7 separate regions of the Homo sapiens genome follow, and all the other regions are linked to region 6. Evidence: promoter capture Hi-C in 16 types of primary human blood cells and fetal thymus (Javierre and others, 2016). All regions are on one chromosome and are shown on one strand. The core of a region is centred on a gene start or on the middle of the fragment in contact, and the rest is flanking DNA. Distances in the headings are between cores, read along the strand shown.

The links. The method cuts DNA at HindIII sites, captures the fragments that hold promoters and counts their contacts. A CHiCAGO score of 5 or more calls a contact.
Region 1: a fragment that was not itself captured here is called in contact with the fragment with the promoter of TBX2 in region 6 in 2 of 17 cell types (naive CD4 T cells and naive CD8 T cells); the score reaches 6.9 in naive CD4 T cells.
Region 2: a contact is called between a fragment that was not itself captured here and the fragment with the promoter of TBX2 in region 6, in 4 of 17 cell types (M0 macrophages, megakaryocytes, endothelial precursors and 1 more). The highest score is 9.9, in M0 macrophages.
Region 3: a fragment that was not itself captured here is called in contact with the fragment with the promoter of TBX2 in region 6 in 1 of 17 cell types (megakaryocytes); the score reaches 5.8 in megakaryocytes.
Region 4: a fragment that was not itself captured here is called in contact with the fragment with the promoter of TBX2 in region 6 in 1 of 17 cell types (M1 macrophages); the score reaches 6.3 in M1 macrophages.
Region 5: the fragment with the promoter of BCAS3 here is called in contact with the fragment with the promoter of TBX2 in region 6 in 7 of 17 cell types (total B cells, activated CD4 T cells, total CD4 T cells and 4 more); the score reaches 9.8 in total B cells.
Region 7: a fragment that was not itself captured here is called in contact with the fragment with the promoter of TBX2 in region 6 in 11 of 17 cell types (megakaryocytes, M0 macrophages, M2 macrophages and 8 more); the score reaches 16.2 in megakaryocytes.

What each region holds. Positions count from the first base shown.
Region 1 is chr17:62,064,796-62,067,905 of GRCh38, reverse strand. MED13 (mediator complex subunit 13) reads left to right here and starts at 2,628. Exons shown (of 30, transcript NM_005121.3): 1 at 2,628-2,766. The coding sequence starts at 2,701. RefSeq lists silencers at 1,838-1,917, 2,708-2,987 and an enhancer at 1,968-2,227. The HindIII fragment of the contact is 415 bases long and covers 1,438-1,852 here.
Region 2 is chr17:60,703,571-60,706,857 of GRCh38, reverse strand. All of the region lies in intron 4 of BCAS3 (BCAS3 microtubule associated cell migration factor), which reads right to left. Among named protein-coding and RNA genes, the nearest start is that of BCAS3, 27 kb to the right of the region's middle. The HindIII fragment of the contact is 617 bases long and covers 1,103-1,719 here.
Region 3 is chr17:60,807,056-60,810,167 of GRCh38, reverse strand. BCAS3 (BCAS3 microtubule associated cell migration factor) reads right to left here. Exons shown (of 24, transcript NM_017679.5): 7 at 2,092-2,164. It also overlaps the pseudogene KRT18P61. Among named protein-coding and RNA genes, the nearest start is that of BCAS3, 130 kb to the right of the region's middle. The HindIII fragment of the contact is 1,423 bases long and covers 773-2,195 here.
Region 4 is chr17:60,779,157-60,782,574 of GRCh38, reverse strand. The region is part of intron 6 of BCAS3 (BCAS3 microtubule associated cell migration factor); the gene reads right to left. Among named protein-coding and RNA genes, the nearest start is that of BCAS3, 100 kb to the right of the region's middle. The HindIII fragment of the contact is 1,270 bases long and covers 697-1,966 here.
Region 5 is chr17:60,676,543-60,679,639 of GRCh38, reverse strand. It overlaps BCAS3 (BCAS3 microtubule associated cell migration factor), which reads right to left and starts at 1,789. Exons shown (of 24, transcript NM_017679.5): 1 at 1,726-1,789; 2 at 100-187. The coding sequence starts at 182. RefSeq lists enhancers at 1,748-1,897, 2,068-2,237 and a silencer at 1,656-2,409. The HindIII fragment of the contact is 12,302 bases long and covers 1-3,097 here.
Region 6 is chr17:61,397,878-61,401,208 of GRCh38, reverse strand. TBX2 (T-box transcription factor 2) reads right to left here and starts at 1,366. Exons shown (of 7, transcript NM_005994.4): 1 at 638-1,366. The coding sequence starts at 1,032. TBX2-AS1 (TBX2 antisense RNA 1) reads left to right here and starts at 1,603. Exons shown (of 2, transcript NR_125751.1): 1 at 1,603-1,970. RefSeq lists a cis regulatory region at 1,282-1,293 and promoters at 1,282-1,529, 1,149-2,409. The HindIII fragment of the contact is 11,976 bases long and covers 1-3,331 here.
Region 7 is chr17:60,741,292-60,744,748 of GRCh38, reverse strand. The region is part of intron 5 of BCAS3 (BCAS3 microtubule associated cell migration factor); the gene reads right to left. Among named protein-coding and RNA genes, the nearest start is that of BCAS3, 65 kb to the right of the region's middle. The HindIII fragment of the contact is 2,747 bases long and covers 1-2,638 here.

The DNA of each region.
Region 1 (3,110 bases), core at 396-2,895, 670 kb before region 6:
AGGAGGGCATTTCAGCCTGAGGAAAGCAGCGGAACAAAGATCTGAGGAGTTTTTCAGGGAACGGGAAATGGGCAGAGGAGCGCTTACCTCATTGGATCTGGGGATTGCTGTCTCCTGGTGCTGGCACTCGGTTATAAAGGATGCCAACCTTAGTTGATTTGAGCTCCTGGATTGAATTAGTCCTGGTTGCATAATTGACTTTGATATGTGGACTTTGGGTTCGAATTAGGTTTAATAAGATTTAACTGCTTCAAAGGGCTTTATAAGAATTCATTTTATCCTTCAAATCTGATTTCAAATGCTACCTACTTTATGACAACTTCTCTAAGTTTGATGCTCTTCTTCTAGTGCACTTACTATGCCATAGTAGGTACATACTTTATTCAAGCAATTACCCCCATTGTATTTTACCTTATTCTGTAGGAAATGTTTCCTTTAGTGCCTCTCTTCAGGAATCTTGAGGGACAGGCAGGTATCTTATTCCTATTTGTATCCTAGGCCTAGCACAGAGCAGGAACACACTCAATTGAGCCAGCAGGTTCTCAATGATTTTTAAAATTACATTAATAATTAACATTAAGTAAGCACTGTGGCAAGCACTGTATCTACATTGTTTCATTCACCAGTCATTTTAGAAGAAAAGTACTTTTATTACCCCCATTTTACAATAACCGAGAGAAAGCAAAATTAATTTGATCTAAGGTCAAATATGATCTAAGACTAACTAGTGAGGGGCAGAACTTTTTCTCCAGGCTTTGGGCTTCAGATCTGGGCTCTTCACCACCACAGATGAACAAGTGGATAAATGAGGACTTCTTTTCATTCCGTGGCTGAAGAAGTGACATGGAAGAGTCTACCATTCATTTTACAGATACAATTATGTATCTGTAATACATAATACATAATTATGTATCTGTAATACATAAAATTACAGTAAGTCCTAACTCACTGATGTTTCTAACTTCTGAATCATCTTTTTCTTCTTCTTTCTTTCTTGCAATCCTAAAACCGTCAGAGAAACTGTTTTGAACTCATATTGAAGTGTAACCCATCCAAGCACTGGGTGTTTTATGGGAAAGAGAATAAACCTTTTGTTTGGTTCTTACTTCTTACCACCCATTCATTTGTAACTATACAAATATCAAGCACCTACTGTGTGCTAGGAACCTTTTTTTAGGCACTAGAGAGACAGAAGTAAACAACAAAAAAATAGTGAGACCTTTACATACACTAGTTCTCCTGCTCGTCACAATAACTATATGAGGTAATGATGACAACAATAATAGTTAACTCTTAACAGTGCTTATCTGTGCGGGGCACTGGGCTACCTGCTTAATTTGTATTAACTCATTACAATAAGCTTGTGGGGTAAGGGATATGTTTTCCCCATTTTACAGATGAGTAAAGACACAGAGCAGGAAGTGATTTGCTCAAGCTTGGAACCCAGGCAGTGTGGCTCTAATTCCCAGTCTATTAACTACAGGGCAATATTTTGTTTCTTAAATTTATATCTTCATATCACAACTTTTAGGTTGAGGAGTCTTATCCCCATCCAGATCATCTGACTCCCAAATCCAGAGGTTTGCACCTGCACCCCAGCGGCCTCGCGAAATAAATGAGAATGTCTTGGAATTTTTGCCAATACTTTCTCTTCCAAAGAACTCAAACTGATTTCCACGTAATTCTCACTGATTTGTGAAATGAACCTTCCTGGACTGTAAATTTCCCCGCAAAGAGAGGGCCAGGGCCCCGGGTCGTTTTATACTGGCCGGGGCACCCAGCAGATGGCGCTATGTTAGTGGCCACCAGCTGGCTGCCCCGTCCCCCGAGCTCACCGCCTCCGCCGAAAGCTTCCCGGCCCTCCCTCGCTCACTTCTCTCTCCCCCTCCCAACCGAGCCCGGGCCCACGTGACCTCAAGGCGGCCAATGGGTGAGCAGAGAGGGCGAGCTGGTCCCTGTGGCCGCCATTAAAGCGAAGGGAAAACCCGTGAATTCGGATTAAAGGGGGAAAAACACCGCCCGCTGGGCCCACAAAATGGGGGAGACTACGGCGTCCAGCCGGTGAGGCCACAGGAGGGCAAACTTTAGGCCGGCTTGGCCCAGGAACGACACGAAGACAGAGCCAGAGAATGGTCTGAGCCCGCAGACGCCGCCACCACCTCCGCCGCTGAGGAGACTCTGGGCTTAAGGACATCGCCGCTGCCGCGCCGGGGGCCTGGGCTTCTCTCCCGGTTCTCGCCCTTCCCGCTCCTGTGCGGGCGCCTCTCCGCCCGGGAGAACCGTCCTGGGCTTGGGCTCTGCCGTCTCGGACTTGATTTTGATTATTTATTGTGTAATTTATTATTTTTCTTGTGGTAGGGGCACACATCCCCTCCGTCCCCCAGAGAGGGACGAGCGTCTGCGGGATCCGCAGTCCGGCCCGCCAGGCGAGCGCGGCGCGGCCCTCCCGCCTCCGGCCCTCGGCCCCGGGCGGCTGGGTGCCGGCCGGGCGGCGGGGGCTGCTCGCGGCGGCGGCGGCGGCGGCGGCGGCGGGGGGGTGGGTGGGGAGGGCGGGCGCCCGGCGGCCTCCTCTTCCACCGCCCCCCCAACCACTACCCCCCCCCCGGCCCTCCCCGGTGTCTGTGTTTCTCTCTCTGGTCGGAGGCGGCGGTAATGGCGGATGGTGGGTTGTGGCGCCGGCGGCGGCTGCTGTGAGGGACGATGAGTGCCTCCTTCGTGCCGAACGGGGCCAGCCTGGAAGATTGTCACTGTAACCTCTTCTGCCTGGTGAGTGCCGGGGCCGGCGGGCGCCGAGGGAGGGGGGCCGCGAGGTGCGCCCTTGGGCCGTGGGGGAGGGGGCCGGGTCTGGTCCAGATGCCCGAGTTCCCGGGCGAGGCCCAGCCGGAGCCGGCGCCCTGCGAAGCTCCGCGGCCAGCCCCGGGAGGCGGCGTTCGCTCTCCTACGGTCCCGGGCTCTGTTTAGGGGAGTGTTGGCATTTTTTCTCGTCTTGTTTCGGACTCTCCTTCTCACCGTAGTCTCGTCCTCAACTTGAGCTCCTTATCTGGCAGGACAGTAACCTTTCCCTCTTGTCTTGCTTAACTGTTGCTTTTCTCCTTATTGGCCCTGTATCC
Region 2 (3,287 bases), core at 162-2,661, 690 kb after region 6:
AGCCTGGGTGACAGAGTGAGACCCTGTCTCCACCAAAAAAAAAAAAAAAAAAAAGTATAGTGTAAGTTTTTGGGGTTGTTTTGTTTTGTTTTGTTTTTTGAGACAGAGTCTTGCTCTGTTGTCCAGGCTGGAATACAGTGGCACAATCTCAGCTCACTGTAGTCTCCACCACGCCTGGCTAATTTTTGTATATTTAGTAGAGATGGGGTTTTGTCATGTTGTCCCAGCTGGTCTTGAGTGCCTGGCCTCAAGAGATCCATCCGCCTCGGCCTTCCAAATTGCTGGGAGGGAATAAAGGCATGAGCCACCATGTATAACTTTTGACTCACCCAAAAACTTAACTGCTAATAGCTTACTGCTGGCCAGAAGGCTTACTGTTAAAATAAAGTCAATTAACATATATTTTGTATATGTTTTATATACTGTATTCTTCGAATATACAGAAGAGAAAATATCCATTAATGGAAGTGGATCATCAAAAAAAGTCTGCATCCTGCTGGGTGCGGTAGCTCAGGCCTGTAATCCCAGCACTTTAGGAGGCTGAGGAGGGTAGATCACCTGAGTTCAGGAGTTCCAGACCAGCCTGGCCAGCATGGTGAAACCCCATCTCTACTAAAAATACAAAAAATTAGCCGGGCGTGGTGGTGGGTGCCTGTAATCCCAGCTACTCGGGAGGCTGAAGCAGAAGAATTGCTTGAACCCAAGAGGTGGAGGTTACAGTGAGCCGAGATCACACCACTGCACTCCAGCCTGGGCAACAACAGCGAAACTCCATCTCCATAAAAAAAAAGTCTTCATCCTTGTCTTCACAGTGAGTAGGCTGAGGAAGAGGAAGAACAGGAGGGGTCGGTCATCTCCCTCAGGGGTAACAGAGGCAGAGGAGATGGAGGAGGTGGAAGGGAGGGCAATAGAGGCAGGCACACTCAGTATAACTTTATGGAAATATACTGTACTTCCTCTCTGACATTTTTGCAAATTTCTCTAAAAATGTTTCTATACAGTACCAATCCTTCTTCCATCATTTGCTTTCATTTCAGTGCCAGTATTATAGAAAGATCTATGTCTAAAAGAAGCCAAAAGCAGTCTTAAATAATTGGAAGCTTTCTGGCAGACTGTCTAACATCAGTCTTCTGGCACTGTTTCCTCTACATCTTCTTCCTCATCATCTGGCACTGGTTTGGAAGCACTGAGCTCCATCAAGCTGTCTTCTCTTAACTTCTCTGGTGTGGTGTCTTAGTTCTTGAATTTCTCCAAAACAGATATCTTGAAATGCTTCACATCTCATCTTTTTTGCCATATCTACAACTTCTTTCATGATTTTCTTTTCTTTTTTTTTTTTTTTTTTGAGACAAGTCTCACTCTGTCACCCAAGCTGGAATACAGTGGCATGATCTCAGCTCACTGAAACTCCGCCTCCCAGGCTCAAGCGATTCTCATGCCTCAGCCTCCCAAGTAGCTGGGATTACAGGCGCCACCACATCTGGATAATTTTTGTATTTTTAGTAGAGACAGGGTTTCGCCATGTTGGCCAGGCTGGTCTCGAACTCCTGACCTAAGGTGATCTGCCGTCCTGGGTCTCCCAAAGTGCTGGGATTACAGGGATGAGCCACCATGCCCGGCCCTCTTTCATGACTTTCTTGATGGTATCTATCGTAAATCCTGTAAGTCATGCAAAACATTTGGACAGTTTTCCCCAGCAGGAATTTATTGTTTCAAGCTTGCTGACTTTCATGGTTATTTCTGTAACATTGATGGCACCTTCAATGGTGTGATCCTTCCACACTTTCCTGATGTTCTATCAGGGTTCTCTTTCACAGAGTTGACAATCCTTTCCATAGAGTATCATGTGTGGTGAGCCTTAAAAGGTCCATGTGGCCCTTTGATCTAGAGGCCCAACAACAAGATAGAGACACCGTGTCTGGGGGCAAGTAGACCACTTCCATACTTTTGGGGTTGAATTCATGACATTTCTGGTGGCCATGGGCACTGTGCAATATCAATAAAACTTTTTTTTTTTTTTGAGACTGAGTCTCACTCTGTCTCCCAGGCTGGAGTGCAGTGGCACAATCTCAGCTAACTGTAACCTCTGCCTCCCTGGTCCAAGCGATTCTCCTGCCTCAGCCTCCTGAGTAGCTGGGATTATAGGCACGCACCACCATGCCCGGCTAATTTTTGTACTAGTAGAGATGGGGTATCACCATGTTGGCCAGGCTGGTCTCGAACTCCTGACCTCAAGTGATCCACCCACCTCGGCCCCCCAAAGTGCTGGGATTACAGGCGTGAAGCACTGCACCCAGCCTCAAAAAAAACTTTAAAAGGCAGTCTCTTACTGGCCAGGTACTTCCTGACTTTGGGAACAAGCATCAATGGAGTCAATCCAGAAAAAGGGTTCCCACTGTCTAGGTCTTCTTGTTATACAATGAAAAGACTAGCAGCTGCTGTTTATCTTTTCCCTCCAAGGCTCAGGGGTTAGCAGCATTATAGATAAGGACAGTCCTGATTATAAACTTGACTGTATTTGCACAAAACAATAGAGTTAGTCTATCCCTTCCTGGCGTTAATTCCGGGTGTGCACTTCTCTTCCTTACTAATAAATGTCTTTTGTGGCATTTTTTTCCCAGAATAGGGCACTTCTCTCAGCATTAAAAAACTCGTTCAGGCAGATAACCTTTCTCCTCAATGATTTTCTTAATGGTATCTGGGAACTCCCCTGCTGCCTCTTGGTCGGCAGAAGTTGCTTCTTTTTATCTTGACATTTTTTAAACCAAACTTCTTTCTACAATTATCAAACCACCCTTTTCTGGCATTAAATTCTCCAGTTTTAGATTTTTCACCTTCCTTTTGCTTTAAGTTGTCATATAATGACTTCGCTTTTTCTCAAATCATATTAGAGTCTATAGTAAGTCTTTCTTTTTTTTTTCTTTTTTTCTTTTTTTTTTTTGAGACGGTGTCTGTCTTCGTTGCCCAGGCGGCTGGAGTGCAGCGGCATGATCTCGGCTCACTACAAGCTCCGCCTCTCGGGTTCACGCCATTCTCCTGCCTCAGCCTCCCGAGTAGCTGGGACTACAGGCGCCCACCACCGCGCCCGGCTAATTTTTTGTATTTTTAGTAGAAACGGGGTTTCACCATGTTAGCCAGGATGGTCTCGATCTCCTGACCTCGTGATCCACCCGCCTCGGCCTCCCAAAGTGCTGGGATTACAGGCGTGAGCCACCGCGCCCGGCTAGGTAAGTCTTTCTTACAGCATCCTGCACCCATGTAAAAGCTGCATTTATTTTAATTAATTT
Region 3 (3,112 bases), core at 235-2,734, 590 kb after region 6:
CATGCTGTCCAGTGGGGAGAGTGAGAGGACAGGACTCAGGCTTTTCTGAAGACCAGTCAGGTATGATTTCTATTGTCTGCCTTTTTCTCACTGCCACAACTTCCTGTTTCTTGGCATGTGTCATAATTTTATATTTAAAAATAGACATTTTATATAATACAGTATAACATTACTCTGGATTCTATGAAATCTGTCTTCTTCCACAATTTGCAGTTGCTGATTTCTCTGTTCAGTTTTATTATTTCTTTTATTCTTGCATTACTTTAAAGCCTGACTTTCAGGGTCTGGCCATGCATCTATGTATCTTAGTGGGCAGCCAACTACTCAACAGAGGATTCACTCAAATACCCCAGGTCAACAAAAGTTGTTTTCCTTTGCCAAAGGATCTGCACATCTATTCAGATTTTTCTTCCCCCTGGACCCTTTTTCATGGCTCCTCTGCATATGCATGAAGCCTCAGCTAACCATTATCTTAGGCTGAAAGAGCCAATGGCTCTCAAAGCACACATGTCATCAAGACAGTAATTTCTGCAGATAATGCTGGCAGGCATATGCAATACCTGCCACTCAGAGATGAGCGAAAATTTTCCAAGCACAGCAGGTAAGGTACTAGTCCTCAAAACCTTTCTCACCCTGGAAGACACTCTATAACCAACCAACCAACCAACCAACCCTGGAAGAGGGAAAGTGTGGAGTGGGACAGGAGCAGCTGCAGGCATGAATGCCACAGATTCCCACTGTTATTGTGCAAAGATTAGCAGTTTCTCAAGCTTAAACACTTTTCAGATTATTATATGCTTTTGGTTGAGTTTCAGAGTACTGCAATAGTTGTTTTCATCTGTTTTGCAGATGGCATTAAATCTAAGTCACAAACTCTCTCTTTTTTTTTTTTTTTTTGAGACAGAGTCTCACTGTTGCCCAGGCTGGAGTACAGTGGTGCACTGCAACCTCTGCCTCCCAGGTTCAAGCAATTCTCGTGCCTCAGCCTTCCGGGTAGTTGGGGTTATAGGCACATGCCACCACACTGGGCTAATTTTTGTATTTTTAGTAGAGACAGGGTTTCACCTTGTTGGCAAGGCTGGTCTCAATCTCCTGACCTCAAGTGATCTGCCTGCCTCAGCCTCCCAAAGTGCTGGGATTACAGGCGTGAGTCACCATGCCTGGCCCACAAACTCTTACCATTCTTAAATGTATTTATTTCAGTTTCTCTTCCACTACTATATTATAACCTACCCTGGCAGTCCTTCTCATCTGCTGCAATATTTCCCATTCCTTAAGATCTAACCTATGCTGCTCCTTCTCCATGAGGCTTTTTCTCATTAATTCATGCACACTGATCTCTCCCTTCTCTGCATTCCTGTCATACATCATTATTTCATAATTATTTTGCATGTGTTGTACTTTTTCTTTTCAGCCACATTCATAAGTCTCTGGGGAAAGAAATTAGGCTTTCATGATTTTGTATCCTTATCCTACACCCGGCAAAGTGCTGAGTATACAGTAAATTCTCAAAGGCTTTATGTCTTCTTCAATCGAAAAATTTACACTTGAAGAAATTTGTCTTGTAGCCTATGAAGTCAAACAGTACCATTAGGAAACAATAATCAAGACTCCATGACCTAACCATGTTATATTATTAACATGTTCTTCCTTTCTCCAATGCCACATGATCTGAAGTGCACACTATTTACTGAAAGCATGAGGCCAAGACTGCTAGTAGCCAACCTAATATCCATTTTGATAATTTTCCTTACTAACAAAACCATAATCATTCCTAGCTTTCCTTGCAGCCAGAAGTTCAATTTGAGGGAATGCACTAACTGGAAAGATATTTGTATTTGTTCACAGTATTGTGGTAATAAATAAAAAAGAAAATTCACACAACACCTTTAGAACAGTGTCAGGCACATGCTATAGCATCAATAAATGTCATTTACTGTTGGAAACCCTAAATATGTTTTACTTTCTTCTTCTTCTCTCTTATGAGAGCTTAGTCTTATGGTTACAAAGGTTTTATAACATCAAAGTTCTCCCTCTGGAATAATATAAATTTGTAATAGGTGATACAAAGAATTTTTAAAATTTCCTTACCCAGAAGATCCAATGCTCTTACAAACACCAAGGAGGGGTCTTTTTTCAGCAAAGTTATCACATTTTTGAGCACCTGACAGGAAGGATAAAATAAATTGTAAGCTTTGAGGAATATTATTGTATAATTCCCACTATTTTCATGCTTTCAAAATACTTGAAAAGGAGAAGTATTCATTATAAGTTGACATAATTTATACAATTGAATAAAAAGAAGAAAAGCTACTATATAAAATCATCATATATTATATATATGTAATCATTTTAAAAACTGAACCAGCATTTTTTTTTTTTTTTTGAGACAGAGTCTCGCTCTGTCACCCAGGCTGGAGTGCAGTGGCACGATCGCAGCTCACTGCAACCTCTGCCTCCCGGGTTCAAACAATTCTCCTGCCTCAGCCTTCTGAGTAGCTGGGACTACAGGCACGTACCACCATGCCCGGCTAATTTTTGTATTTTTAGTAGAGACAGGGTTTCGCCATGTTGGTCAGCCTGGTCTCACACTCCTGACCTCAAGTGATCCACCCGCCTCAACCTCCCAAAGTGCTGGGATTACAGGCGAGAGCCACAATGGCCAGCCTGAACTGGCATTTTTTTTAAGTTTCAATTGGCACCAATTTCAATCTTATACACCTTCCCCATGAGATCAGAAAACCATCCCATACCCCACCAACTAATTACCTAAAACTAGTAATAATATTGATGTCGAAACTAAATAAAGGTAGTTCAAGACAAGAAAATTATAAAACTATAGGTCATTCCCATTGATATACATAGTTGCAAAAATCCTAAACAAAATATCAGCAAATTAAATAGCAACATATATGAAAAAAATAAACTCTCATAACTGAATTAGATTTACCTAAGCAACAGTAATAGTTTGGCAGTATAAAATCTATTAATGTAATTAATGATATTAATATTTCAGCAGATGCAGAAAAAGCATTCAATTAGACTCTATACCTAATCATATGAACAAAAAAAAATAACAAAAATATCTTTTTTAACCTAATAATGATCATCT
Region 4 (3,418 bases), core at 82-2,581, 620 kb after region 6:
ATAATAATAATAACTTATAAAGACCAACTAACATGTTTTCTGGTCACAACATTTGATCTGAACAGAAGTAACATAGAAAATAGAAAGGGCATGGAATTTTAAATCAGATAGGCATGGATTTCCAAACTGGCTTTCATAATTAATTGGTTTGTAATCTACATTCTGAAGGTCAACTGCCACATCTGCAAACTGGAGATGCTACCTACCTCAAGCATACTAAGTCCTCAAAAAATAGTGGCTGTTATCATAAACTAAGATAAAATGAAGGAATTCTTAAAGTGATGTTTAAAAGTTGGTAAAATAACATAAAATCTTTATAAACTCAATACAGCAGGCAATTATTAAGCAACCATTATTAGGTCTCACACTGTGCTGCAAGCTATTTGAAAGAATGCAACAGATAAACAAAAGTAGTTTTTAAAGTCATATCTCCTCAGTAATAACTGGACTCCTCATATGTGGTCATCCTTAATTTTCAGTCTTCAAGGTAAAATGGCTATGTAGCAGGTATAGGTTTCTTTTGCTTTTGTGAAAGTTAATCTGATTTCTAGCTCAGTTGTTCATCTGGTGTGCTGAATTTCTAGGTGGAGGATGGTGAGGACAATGACAGAAGACAGGAAGAATTTAAAACATGATATTCAAAGAGATAAATGACAGAGAATTTTCCAGAATTATAAAAGAAAGAACCAGAAAGCTTGGTAAGTCTCCAGCAGAATAAAATGAAATTCACACCTAGAAATAGGTCTAGAAGCACATAGCAACTGTTATTAACTAACGTAGGAAAAAATGGAATTATGAAAAATAGGTAAAGAAATACACATAATTGTAAAATTCATTTTTATAAAAATGTCTTTTAAAATTTGTTTTAAGGGGTAGAGGAAAAAACATGGAAATAAGACAAAAACAATAAGAAGAAATGTGATCTGAGTAAGTATAAGGCAGTCTAGGATGAAGAAGAAAAACAAGAAGGAGAAGAAAGAAAAGGTCTCACTCTGTCATCCAGGCTGGAGTACAGTGGCACAATCATAGCTCACTGAAACCTCTGCCTCCTGACTTCAAGAGATTCTCGTGCCTCAGCCTCCCGAGTAATAGAGACTACAGGCATGCACCAACATGCCTGGCTAATTTTTGTATTTTTAGTAGAGATGCAGTTTCACCACGTTGGCCAGGCTGGTCTCAAACTCCTAATCTCAAGTGATCCTTCTACCTTGTCCTCTGTAAGTGCTGGGATTACAGGTGTGAACCACCATGGCCAGCTGGAAAATTCTTTCTTTGAGAAAGATGGCAAAAAAAAAAGGAAAAAAAAGCTGGGCGTAGCGGCTCACACCTGTAATCCCAGTACTTTGGGAGGCTGAGGCGGGGGGATCACTTGAGGTCAGGAGTTCGAGACCAGCCTAGCCAACATGGTGAGACCCCATCTCTACTAAAAATACAAAAATTAGCCAGGCATGGTGGCACGCACCTGTAACCCCAACCTACTCCAGAGGCTGGGGCACAAGAATCGCTTGAACCCAGTAGTTGGAGGCTGCAGTGAGCCGAGATGGTGCCACTGCACTCCAGCCTGGGGGACAGAGTGAGACTCCATCTCAAAAAAAAAGATGGCAAAAAAGACAAAAAATAAAACAGAACCATGGTGGCAAATTACTTTAAAGCGTCAAAATTTAAATATCTGTATGTACATCTAACAAAATATCTACAGATATTCTACAATTAACTTAGGAAAATATGTCAAAAAATGTAAGGCTATGTTAGCCATAACTCAAAGAAGGATAAAAAGGACCTCAGCCTGGAAATTAGAAGGAAGAAAGCTGTGATATAATTTATAATAGGAAGCTCTGCAACACAGCTTAGATACAACTATTTTCCAAACAAATTATCAAAAATTCGTATCAAGAGGTCTATCTTTTACACCAATAAATCTCTGTGTACGACAAGTTACCTAAAGTACTAACATGACAAAAAAGCTTTTTAGGGTTGGGTGTGGTGGCTCATGCCTGTAATCCCAGCACTTTGGGGGGCTAAGGCAGGTGGATCACTTGAGGTCAGCAGTCCAAGATCAGCCTGGCCAACATAGTGAAACCCCGTCTCTATTAAAAATAGATAAATTAGCCAGGCATGGTGGCGGGTGCCTATAATCCAAGCTACTGGGGAGGCTGAGGCAGGAGAATCGCTTGAACCCAGGAGGTGGAGTTTGCAGTAAGACAAGATCACGAGATCGCTCCACCGCACCCCAGTCTGGGCAACAGGGTGACACTGTCTCAAAAAATTAAAAAAAAAAAAAAAAATAGGCAGGGCATGGTGGCTCACGCCTGTAATCCAAGCACTTTGGCAGGCCGAGGTGGGCAGATCACAAGGTCAGGAGTTTGAGACCAGCTTGGCCAATATAGTGAAACCTGTCTCTACTAAAAATACAAAAATTAGCTGGGTGTGGTGGCACGTGCCTGTAGTCCCAGCTACTCGGGGGAGCCGAGGCAGAAGAATCGCTTGAATCCAGGAGGCGGAGCTTGCAGTGAGCCGAGATGGCGCCACTGCACTCCAGCCTAGGCAACAGAGCGAGACTCCATCTCAAAAAAAAAAAAAAATTAAAAATAGTAAAGTTTTTTAGATATTTGAATATTTTCCCAAAAATATTGCAATAGACACCAAGCTCCAGTGATCATATCAGAGCCTTATCTCCTGTTTTTCAAAGGTCTATATATCAAATAGCACCAAGAATATTTCTCAAACAGAATCATACCATTCTTGCATGATTTAGAAAAACTCAGAGAATGGTATAGGTTGAGTACCCCTTATCTGACATGCTTGGGAACAGGAGCATTTCAGGTTTCAGACTTCTTTGGCTTTTGGAATATTTACATATACATAATAAGCTATCTTGATAGGAACCAAGTCTAAACATGAAATTCTGCCGGGCGCGATGGCTCACGCCTGTAATCCCAGTACTTTGGGAGGCCAAGGCGGGTGGATCACCTGAGGTCAGGAGTTCGAGACCAGCCTGACCAACATGGAGAAGCCCTGTCTCTACTAAAAATACAAAATTAGCTAGGCGTTGTGGCACATGCCTGTAATCCCAGCTACTTGGAAGGCTGAGGCAGGAGAATCGCTTGAACCTGGGAGGCGGAGGTTGCAGTGAACTGAGATCACGCCATTGCACTCCAGCCTGGGCAATAAGGGCAAAGCTCCGCCTCAAAAAAAAAAAAAAAAGAAAGAAAATAACTTACGTTTCATATGCACCTTACACATATAGCCTGAAGGTAATTTGATACAGTATTTTTGTTAATTTTGTGCATGAAACAGTTTGTGTTATTTATGTGTGGAATTTTCCACTTGTGGCATCATGTCAGCACTCAAAAAGTTCTGAATTTTGTTTTGGGGGTTTTATTTGGGGGTGGGGAGAGCAGGCAGCCTCCAGAGCTAG
Region 5 (3,097 bases), core at 540-3,039, 720 kb after region 6:
ATTTTTACAAAAGTAACCACTGTTCATAAAGAAAACCTAAATGTTAGTATTCTGAGTAATCTTTTCTTCAGCTATTGGGTTTATCTGAAATGTGCTTACGTGACAGCCTGGGGGCGAACCACAACTCCACCAGTACAACGACTGGGTCTTCTTGGGGAATCTGTAGCCATAGCTTCATTCATAAAACCTGTTTCCAGAACAAACAAACAAACAAAAAACAGAAAAACATGGATCGTTGTTGGGGGTAGGGAGGAAGATTTATGATTACTCACTAGAGATCCCTTGTCAAAAATGCCTCAAATGTAGGAAACTTTCCCAGAAATTCCTGTTACACCAGAAAGGGAAAAAAGGAGGAAGTAGGTTTTTAATTTTTTTCAAATTATAATGAGGGGTTTGGGGGGTTATTATTATTTTTGAGATAGAGTCTCGCTCTGTCGCCCAGGCTGGAGTTCAGTGGCACGATCTCTGCTCATGGCAATCTCCGCCTCCCAGGCTCAAGCAATTCTCCTGCCTCAGCCTCCTGAGTAGCTGGGATTACAGGCGAGCGCCACCATGCCGAGCTAAATTTTATATTTTTTTGTAGCGACGGGGTTTCACCATGTTGCCAAGGCTGGTCTCGAACTCCTGAGCTCAAGCAATCCATCCGCCTTAGCCTCCCAAAGTGCTGGGATTATAGGCTTGAGCCACCGCGCCCATCCTGTTTTGTTTTTTAATAGGACCAGGTCTCAGAACCACAAAACAATGTAAGGAAGACTCCTGCTGTACCCCTTGGTCTGTTGTTAACATAAATTACAAGGGTGAGAGAACCAGATCATGGGATGGGAATTTACTGCAATTTTATGTTGAGATAGTGAAAATACACATGGTACAATATTTCAAGACCAAACGGAACAAGTGACATGATATCACTCTACCTTCCAATTAAACCTGTTGGGAATCTATGAGTAAATCACAATTTAAATCACATTCGTAACCCCCTGCTACTATAACAAATAAGTCAAGTAATTATTTGACTAGTAGCAAGTAGTCAAATAACTAACATAAACTAATACGTTGTTACAGCCCTTTACCCTTTCCCGTCACATCAGTAAATCCTGATCCTAGAATGTTTCATGACCCTCTGAATCACTGAGATTTTAAGAGCATGGAGTCGGCTTGGTTAAGGTTAAAAGAGGACTGACAGCAATATCAAAGATCTCTTACAGGGCTCAGGGAAGCCCACAACCTGGAACTCATCTTGAAGGCACCGAAAACCATTTTTAAGTAGGGAGCATTCACACCTGATGTGAAAACTCTAAACCTGTGCGCCCCACCTCCTACAACCAAAACACCCTCTGCCCCAAGGAGCAGAGCCACCACCTCCTCAGAGGATACCTGCACCTCCAGCCCCTCAGCCCTCTCATTCTCATCCCATTCTTGCTTTCTCGAACCACAGTCTCCCAAGCCCTGCCCTTTAAGGGCCCTGTCTCCTGGGGACGACCCTCGCCAGCCACTCAGGCCCCAGTCTCCTGAAAGACACTCGTACGGCGCTGCCCACTTAACCTCCAACACGGAGCCACCGCTGCCCCCGGCCGCCCTCCGGCCCCTTGCACTGTTCCCCTCCCCCTCCAGTATCGACACCTCTCTCCTGTCGAATTCCTGCCAGCCCGACCCAGTCCCCTCACGCCGCCAGTCCCTCGTCCTCCCCAAGCCTCCCCAAAGCCAAAGCCCTGCCAGCCCTCTCACCGGCCGCCCCGCCGGTTAACGCTAGTCTCCAGCTCTAGGCTCACTGTTTGGAGTCTCCCCGAGTGATTGACGGCAGCCACTTCCTACCACGCCTCAGCGGAACCACCCCCTCTAGCCAATCCCAGAAGCAAACCGGCTATGGCCGGGCACCGCCCTTGGAGGTCAGCTTCGCCAACCAGCAAGTAGGAAAGAGGCGGACCCGCCTTCTGAATGTGTCCAATCCGCTGGGGCTGGAGGGAAAACACAACAGCATGTAAGTTCGGGTGAAGCCGAGGTGTCAGGTTCGGTTGCAAACGCAGGCAGCTGGGGAATAATTACGAACATGTACATTTTTTTTGGAAGACAGAACCTTCGTGGCTTTGAAAAGAAAAGCAACATGATCCAGACTCCTGTCCCGCTCACGTGAGCGTTTCAGGTTGGAGCCGGAGGACAGGGAGACTGGTCTGTTTACATCGAATTCTCGCGACAGCTGGTTCCAAGCTCGGAGCACGTGGACATGGCAGCTGCCAATCACTTTTAGCTGGCCACTCACCCGTCCCACACCCGCCTTCTGCCCAGCCCTTGGCGATGTGTTTACCTTCCGGGAGCCTAGGCTGGCTCGCGCCGGCGATCAGCCGAGGAGGGGTTGATCTGAATAAGGGGCACGGCCGGTAATCTCAACAATTTGAGCTAGGTTTGTAGACCACTTCTTGCTTCAGTTTCCATCTCCCTTATTGTTGAAGATCGAGATCTCGCCATTGTCATTTCATCAGTTCATTTATTAATATAAGTAGAATAATACTGACTGACTTCTTGAACACTCAGCACAGGCCTTCGTATACTTCATATACAATACTCTAATGTATTATCAAATTTAATGCCAATGACAGGTCCGTGAGGGTATAGCTTATTAACAGGCGTGGTGGGCTGGGCGTGGTGGCTCACGCCTGCAATCCCAACATTTTGGGAAGCCTAGGCGGGAAGATCGCTTGAGGCCAGGAGTTCTAGAACAGCCTGGACAACATGAAGAAACCCCGTCTCTACTAAAAATAGCCAGGTGTGGTGGCCAATGCCTGTAATCCTAGCTACTGGGGAGGCTGAGGCGGAAGAATTGCTTGAACCCAGGAGGCGGAGATTGCAGTGAGCCTATAGATCACGCCATTGCCCTCCAGCACTTTAGCCTGGGTGACAGAGAGTCCCTCTCAAGACAGATAGATAGATAGATAGATAGATAGATAGATAGATAGATAGATACATACATACATACATACATACATACATACATACATACATACATAAAATTTTAAAAAATTTTAAAAAAAGAAATGAAAGAAAAGGCCGGGCACGGTGGCTCACACCTGTAATCCCAGCACTTTGGGAGGCTGAGAGGGGC
Region 6 (3,331 bases), core at 117-2,616:
GGTGAACCCGAGGCCTGGATTCTCGGTGGCTGAGTCGAAGGGTGGAGGGGCCGGGGCTGTGGCTTTCTTCAGGCTTTAAGGCCTGGGGCGGCGGATGCGTCCAGGGCTCGGATGCCCGCGGTGGAGAAAGGGCTCCCAGCCCGGTGAGGCGGAGGGCTCGGCTGACCCGGGGCTCGCTGCCAGGAACCGAGCAACCAGCGTGGGGTTAGCTGGGCCCAGGTCCCACTAGGGGCTTCGGGGTCGGAGCAGAGTCTGAGAGAGGCTGAATTTCCCCCGAGCTCGGAGACGGACCCGGACGCAGAAGAGCGAGAGCGCGGGGCGGAGGAGACCGCCAGGGCCAAGCCGCGGGGCCTCCTCTGCGCTGGGACTCAGAACGGTTGGGGCTATTCTTTAGCAGTATGTTTTCGTTTTATTTCATTCGGAGGATTTTAGCGTTTTTGTTTTAAAAAAAAATCGCTCCGGTGCCAAACGAGAAAAGTCAACTTGGTTGTCCGTGGGAGCGAAGCGTGGCGTCAGGGCCAGAACCTGGAGCCGGGAGCCGGGAGCCGGGAGTCCCCAGCTCTGCTCTGATCCGTGCAGTCCCGTGCCCCAGCCCGCCCGCCCGCCCGCGCGCCTTCCAGCCGGCCGGCAGCCCTACCTCCCGGACTTGGTGATGACCATCTCCGTGCCTAGCTTGTGGAACTGGTCCCACAGCTCCTTGGCCTCCAGCGTCACCTTGGGGTCGTCCTCCACCTCGTCCTCGGGCTCCAGGCTCTTGAGGGAGCGCAGATGCGCGGCGGGCGGGTGCGGGCCCAGTGCCGAGACGTGCAGCCCCGCCTCGGCCGCTGCTGCCGCCGCCGCCGCCGCGGCCGCCGCCCCCGCCAGGCCCGGGTCGGGCAGCGGCTTGGCCAGCGCGCCGGGCGGCAGCGCGAGTGCCGGGAAGAAGGAGGGCTGCGCCGCCGCCAGAAAGGCGGACATGGGGAAGTCGGCGGGCCGTGGCGCGTGGAACGGGTGGTAAGCCATGGCGCTGGCCGCCAGCGCCGGCTCTCTCATCGGGACATCCGGCCCAGGCGCCCGGGGGCCGGGGCCGGGGCCGGGGGCGCGCGGCTCGGACCCCCGGCCCGGGCGGCGGCGCGCGCGGTGGACGGACGACCCGGGTGGCGGGCGCAGCAGCTGCTCCTCGGGGCTTCCCGTCCGGCGCACCGCAAGGGGCACCCGGCTCTGTGCGCGGGGGCGGCGGGGGCTCTGCGCGGGGCCGGGCTGGGCCGGGCTGAGCTGGCCCGCTCCGGCGCCGGGGACCACGCGCGACTGGTTAGATCTTGTCGTGATCTCTGGAAAACTGTGACTATCTCACATGTCCTGCCCAGCTCGGATCCCCTGCGCTAACGAGCCAGGCCCCCCTTGATTGCTGATTTTACGCTTTTTGGACCAATTGTGGGTCTCCGGGGGCGGGGTTTTGACAGCTCAGGCCAAGCTCCGGCCGGGAGGGGGGGCCTGGGAGAAGGTGTCGGAAGCCTCAGCAGTAAGAAAACATGTCAACAGAATAAAATATTAACCAATGACGGGCCGCCGGGCCCCGAGACCCCTCCTCCTGCCCCGGCCCCCACCGCCCGCCCGCGCCTGCGGCTGCCTGCGCCGGACTGGAGAGCGCGGAGGGCCGACCTGACCCGCCGAAAGGGCCTGAGGCGAGGGGAGCCCGGGTCCCGGGGCCTTGGGGAAGGACCCGCAGCCGCACGCCGGCCCCAAGTGCAAAGCATTGACACGACCCCGAGCGGAGAGGGGGCGCCCTCCTTCTCCCGCGCCCAGAGGCCCGGCCGCTCTGGCCCGAGCCCCAGCCTGGCCTCCGACCCAGCTCCGGGTCGTGGCGCCGCCTGGGGGTCCCTGCGCCCCGGAAAGAGACAGCAGGCACTGGAAAGCGAGGCCGGTGGGCGGGCGAGTCGGGAGGCTCGGGCGGCCGAGGTCCGGGAGCGGATCCCAGGTGGCGGGAGCTGGTGAGTGGAGCCATGGCCGAGCCCTGCTGGGGCCGGCGCGGGCGGGAGCGGGACGCGGCCTTGCGCTGGGGAAACGCGGGGACCCCCTACCCGCGCCCGCCTTCACCGGAAGACTCGGAAGGAACCTGGAGTTCTCCGCAGGCCCGGGCCCCGCCCTGAGCTTTCCAGCGGCCGGGAGGAGCGGATCCTCGGGGCCAGGAAGGTGAGCGCACCTTTCGCTGAGCACAGGGCGGCACCGCGCGGGCGGACCCCGGATTCTCCACCCGCGACCCAACGAATTTTCGCCCTATCCGGTACCGGAGACGAAAGTCTCCTTCTTCCGAAATACCGGCTTCCTCTCTTCGCCCTGCCAACCACTTTTTTAGTTTCTTCTCATCTCTCGGAAGCGCACGTCTCCTAAGTTAAGGAGTGCTGAGTAACGCGTGAGGGAGTTGGGGTGTCTGCGAGCACCTGTGATTGAAGCCCCCTCTTCTGTGATCAGTCTTCGTTTTCTGTCTTCCGGCAGCCTCAGTTTCCCCCCCATGAAGTGATGGTGTGTGTGTGTGTGTGTGTGTGTGTGTGTGTGTGTGTGTGTGTGTCGGGCCCCGTGTGGTGCCCTCTGTGCGCAGCGAGAGCTATAACTCAAGGTGTGCACGGGGAGAGTGAAGCGACCACGCACCTGCTTCCAATCGGGCTCGGGCGCGAACACTCAGGCTGATTCCTGAAGGTCGTTTTCTGAAGGAAAAGACAGAGCATGCACTAGCCACGGGTGACATTCCCACCCGTACAACCGCGTGGTGGGCGCGTACATCCAACATTGACCCATGCAGGCGCCCGCCCACTGCGCACACCGGTCGCAGGGCACTTCGTTGTTGAACGTTGGGAGCAGCGTTTGAAGGCCGGATCTCTCCTGGCAGTGCGGATTCGGGACCGGCGGAAGCAGTATGGCCTCTGCGACCGTTATCCCTACTTTTCGGGGCCGACCCCAGGGCCCTCACAACTCCTCATCACCGCATATGTGAGCGCCGCCCCCACAGGGTTTTCTCCACGACCTCGTTCTTGGCTAGGTCGCACCTCTCTTAGTACCTCCTCTCTGGCCAGAACGAATCTTTGACTCCGAGCTGCGCAGTCTACGCAGACGGGGCAGGATCCACTGCAGTTTTCCACAGGCAAATACCTGCTGGCTCCACCTTAGGCGAGATGTGGCCTCTCGGGGAGGGACCCGTTGTGGACACGTTTGCGCAGCCGGTGAGGTGACCAGATAATAACCAGGGCAGCTTTCCTTAGCCGGGAACCCAGGTACCGGCCTAGGAATCCGTGAATACATTCGCAAAGTCGCGCGCGCGCGCGCGCGCGTGTGTGTGTGTGTGTGTGTGTGTGTG
Region 7 (3,457 bases), core at 16-2,515, 660 kb after region 6:
TCTATGGTCCTAGGATCTGTGTTTAATTATAACTCGGGGGTGGGGGTTGGGGGGAGCAGAGGAAACATTGTGTCACATTTATAGATATTTCTGAATATATTAAAATCAGGATTGTACAACCTACTGAAATTAGAAGCATAATTCTAAACTATCCTATGTGAGTCACAAAATGTCAAACTTCCTCGAGGAGAGAACTCTCCAAATAGTCTGTGGGAATTCTACATTAGAGTACCATTTCAGAACAGAAACAGAGTTAAGGTTTATACAGATATGATCCATACGTTTTAGAAAGGACACACAGAGGATGGTTAGTCTTTACAGATTCTGCTTTAGCTATCTTTCTGAATAATAATTTTATACATTATGTCCACTGATAATTTTGCCTTCAAATAAGTGCCAAAACTGATTTTTTATAAGGCTGTCAAGAGTGATTTTTTAGGTTTTAAGAAAAGAGCTCATTAAAAATGGCAGAGATAAGGATTTTCTAGATCCTGAAAAGAAGTATACTAAACTGTAAGTTCACTTTTAAACCAACAATAGCAATAAATACAAGAGTAGAACTACAAGGAAAGAGAGTCCAAGCAGTATTCCAACTTCCTGGCAACTGTGGTAACTTGGGGAGAAGAGCGAACAGGGAGAAAGCCTCTCCAACAGCTCCTCATGGTCTCTGCCTTTGTTCTTACTGGCATTTTAATTTCTGATGACAGACTTTTGTTGTTTGGGGCATAAACCGGACGTACCAGTTTGGAGGCACAATAAGGAGAACAAAGAATGATTTGTTCACACTGTAGGAAAAAAAATCTTTTCCAACCATAGAAAATAGCTTTCGCATGGTGAAAATATGCAAATTACATACCAAACCAAAAAAGGGGTGGGGGTAGTACAAGTTTAGAATCTCACAACTCGATCTAAGGCAAAAGGAAATTACAACAGCTAAGACAATAATATACACACAGAAAAGGCTACACAAGTTCTGGGAGAGCTGTAGAAGTGCTTTTAGAGAATTCTGAAAGCAAATGAAGGTTATCTTGCCCTCAGAATCAAACTTATTTCTAAACTTCTGATGACTTTTCATAGACCAATTATAATATAGAAAATTCAAATACCAAAAGACAATAAAAATACTGCTTTATAATGCTGCATTATTAGGACAAGAGTACACATTCACAACCCCACTTTCCCCTATAGATACTGGTTAAATGGATGTTTGTGGTCCACAAATGATTTTTTTTTTTTTTAGCAAACTTTATCAAGAGGTAACAAACACAGAAAAAATACATACATCCTAAGTATATGTATAACATGAATTTTAAATGTTAACGTACCTCTGAACCAAAAGACATCAAGAAACAGAATATTATGGATACTCAGAAGGTCCTGCTACATCTCTTTTCAGTCATAATCCCAACTCAAGAGTGGCCATAACTACAATCCTGATTTCTATTACTTTAAGTTCTACTTGTTCATCTTAATGTAAATGGGTTCCCACAATATGTACCCTTGGGAATGGCTTCTTTCACACATTACTATGCTTATGAAATTAATTCATGTTGTTGCATGGAATTGTAGTTTTATATGTATTGCTATATAGATTTCCATTGTATGAAAATATTACAAATTTTTTTTTTTTTTTTTTGAGAAGGAGTCTCGCTCTGTCACCCAGGCTGGAGTGCAGTGGCGCGATCTTGGCTCACTGCAAGCTCCACCTCCTGGGTTCACGCCATTCTCCTGCCTCAGCCTCCCAAGTAGCTGGGACTACAGGCACGTGCCACCATGCCCGGCTAATTTTTTGTATTTTTAGTAGAGACGGGGTTTCACTGTGTTAGCCAGGATGGTCTCAATCTCCTGACCTCATGATCTGCCCACCTCGGCCTCCCAAAGTGCTGGGATTACAGGCGTGAGCCACCGTGCCTGGCCGAAAATATTACAATTTTATCCATTGTACTACTGTTCATGGACCTCTGAGTTGTTTTTACTTTTTTACTTCTAGTTTTTAGCTCTTAAGATGTCAAGGAGGCCAGGCACAGTAGCTCATGCCTTATAATCCCAACACTTTGGGAGGCCAAGGTGGGTGGAACACTTGAGGTCATGAGTTCGAGACCAGCCTGGCCAACATGGTGAAAAGCTGTCTCTACCAAAAATACAAAAATTAGCCGGGCATGGTGGCACACACCTGTAGTCCCAGCTACTCGGGAGGCTGAGGTGGGAAGATTGCTTGAACCCAGGAGGCGGAAGTTGCAGTGAGCTGAGATTGCACCATTGCACTCCAGCCTAGGCAACAGAGCAAGACTCAGTCTCAAAAAAAAAAAAAAAAAAAAAAAAGATGTCAAGGAAAATTGTGAAAGATTTTGAAATGCTGAATAGATTACTTTGTGTTCTGTGTTTTTTCTATGGATTACCAAGAGCTCTCTAGCAGACCCTTTGGGGTTATCTGATTCTATAGGGGATCCACACTTTGTCTTTGACTGGGCTACTGTACAATACTCTGAGCTGTCAAAAACTGATAGTAATGCAATTGATTCTTGTGCACAGAAATGCAAATGAATTTTGTCTGGTAGAGATACAAGTGAATTCCACTCTGTAGAAAAGATTATTCCAAACAGTACATTTTAGTGCCCAACAGAATATTAACCAAGCTTGTATCTATTAGAAAATTTATTTCAGTATTCCTAATTGCTTCTCTGTGATATTCACCTTCTTCTTGGAACCAGCTATAATAACATCCCAAATCCCTAATCAATGAGTTAAAAAAAATGCAGGATATCTGTCCCTTATATAGTTGTATGAGATCACTGTTTTACCATTTTGAAAACAACATAATAAAGAATATTGATGTAAACATTCTCACAAATGTCTTTTAGTAAACATGTATATGTATTTCTCTTGGATATATATCTAGTAGAGTAACTACTTCTGTATATTAGGGCAGGCACATGTGTATCTTTTGTAGATTTAATTTTCCAATGTGATTGTACCAATTTACACTTCCACCAGCAACGTACAAGAGTTCTATCTGCTCCACATCCTAGCCAATATTTAGTGTCAGCCATTCTGGTAGGTGTCCAAAAATTATGGATTTAAATCAATAGATGCATGGTAACTGAAATGCATAAATCAGTCTCCAATGGATATGTAATGCTGCCTCAAAGTAAATATATAAATAATTAGTCTTTATTATAATGGCCCTCCATGAGGGCAGATGATGTAAGACTTTTGTCCTGAAGGACCACAGATAGGTATGATAGTACAGGATATTAATGAGATTCAAGGACTCGATTAAGCAGCTCTTGGAATAAGTAGAGTTTTTTTGTACATAATGAAATTCATATCTTAATTCCAAATACAATAATGACCAATCCTTCCCTCAAACTAAGGTGCAATGATTAGGTTCTAGCAACACAATGTCCTTCGAAGCTGAAATACACTGATTTGTGAACATTCAGACTTTCAGTTTCCA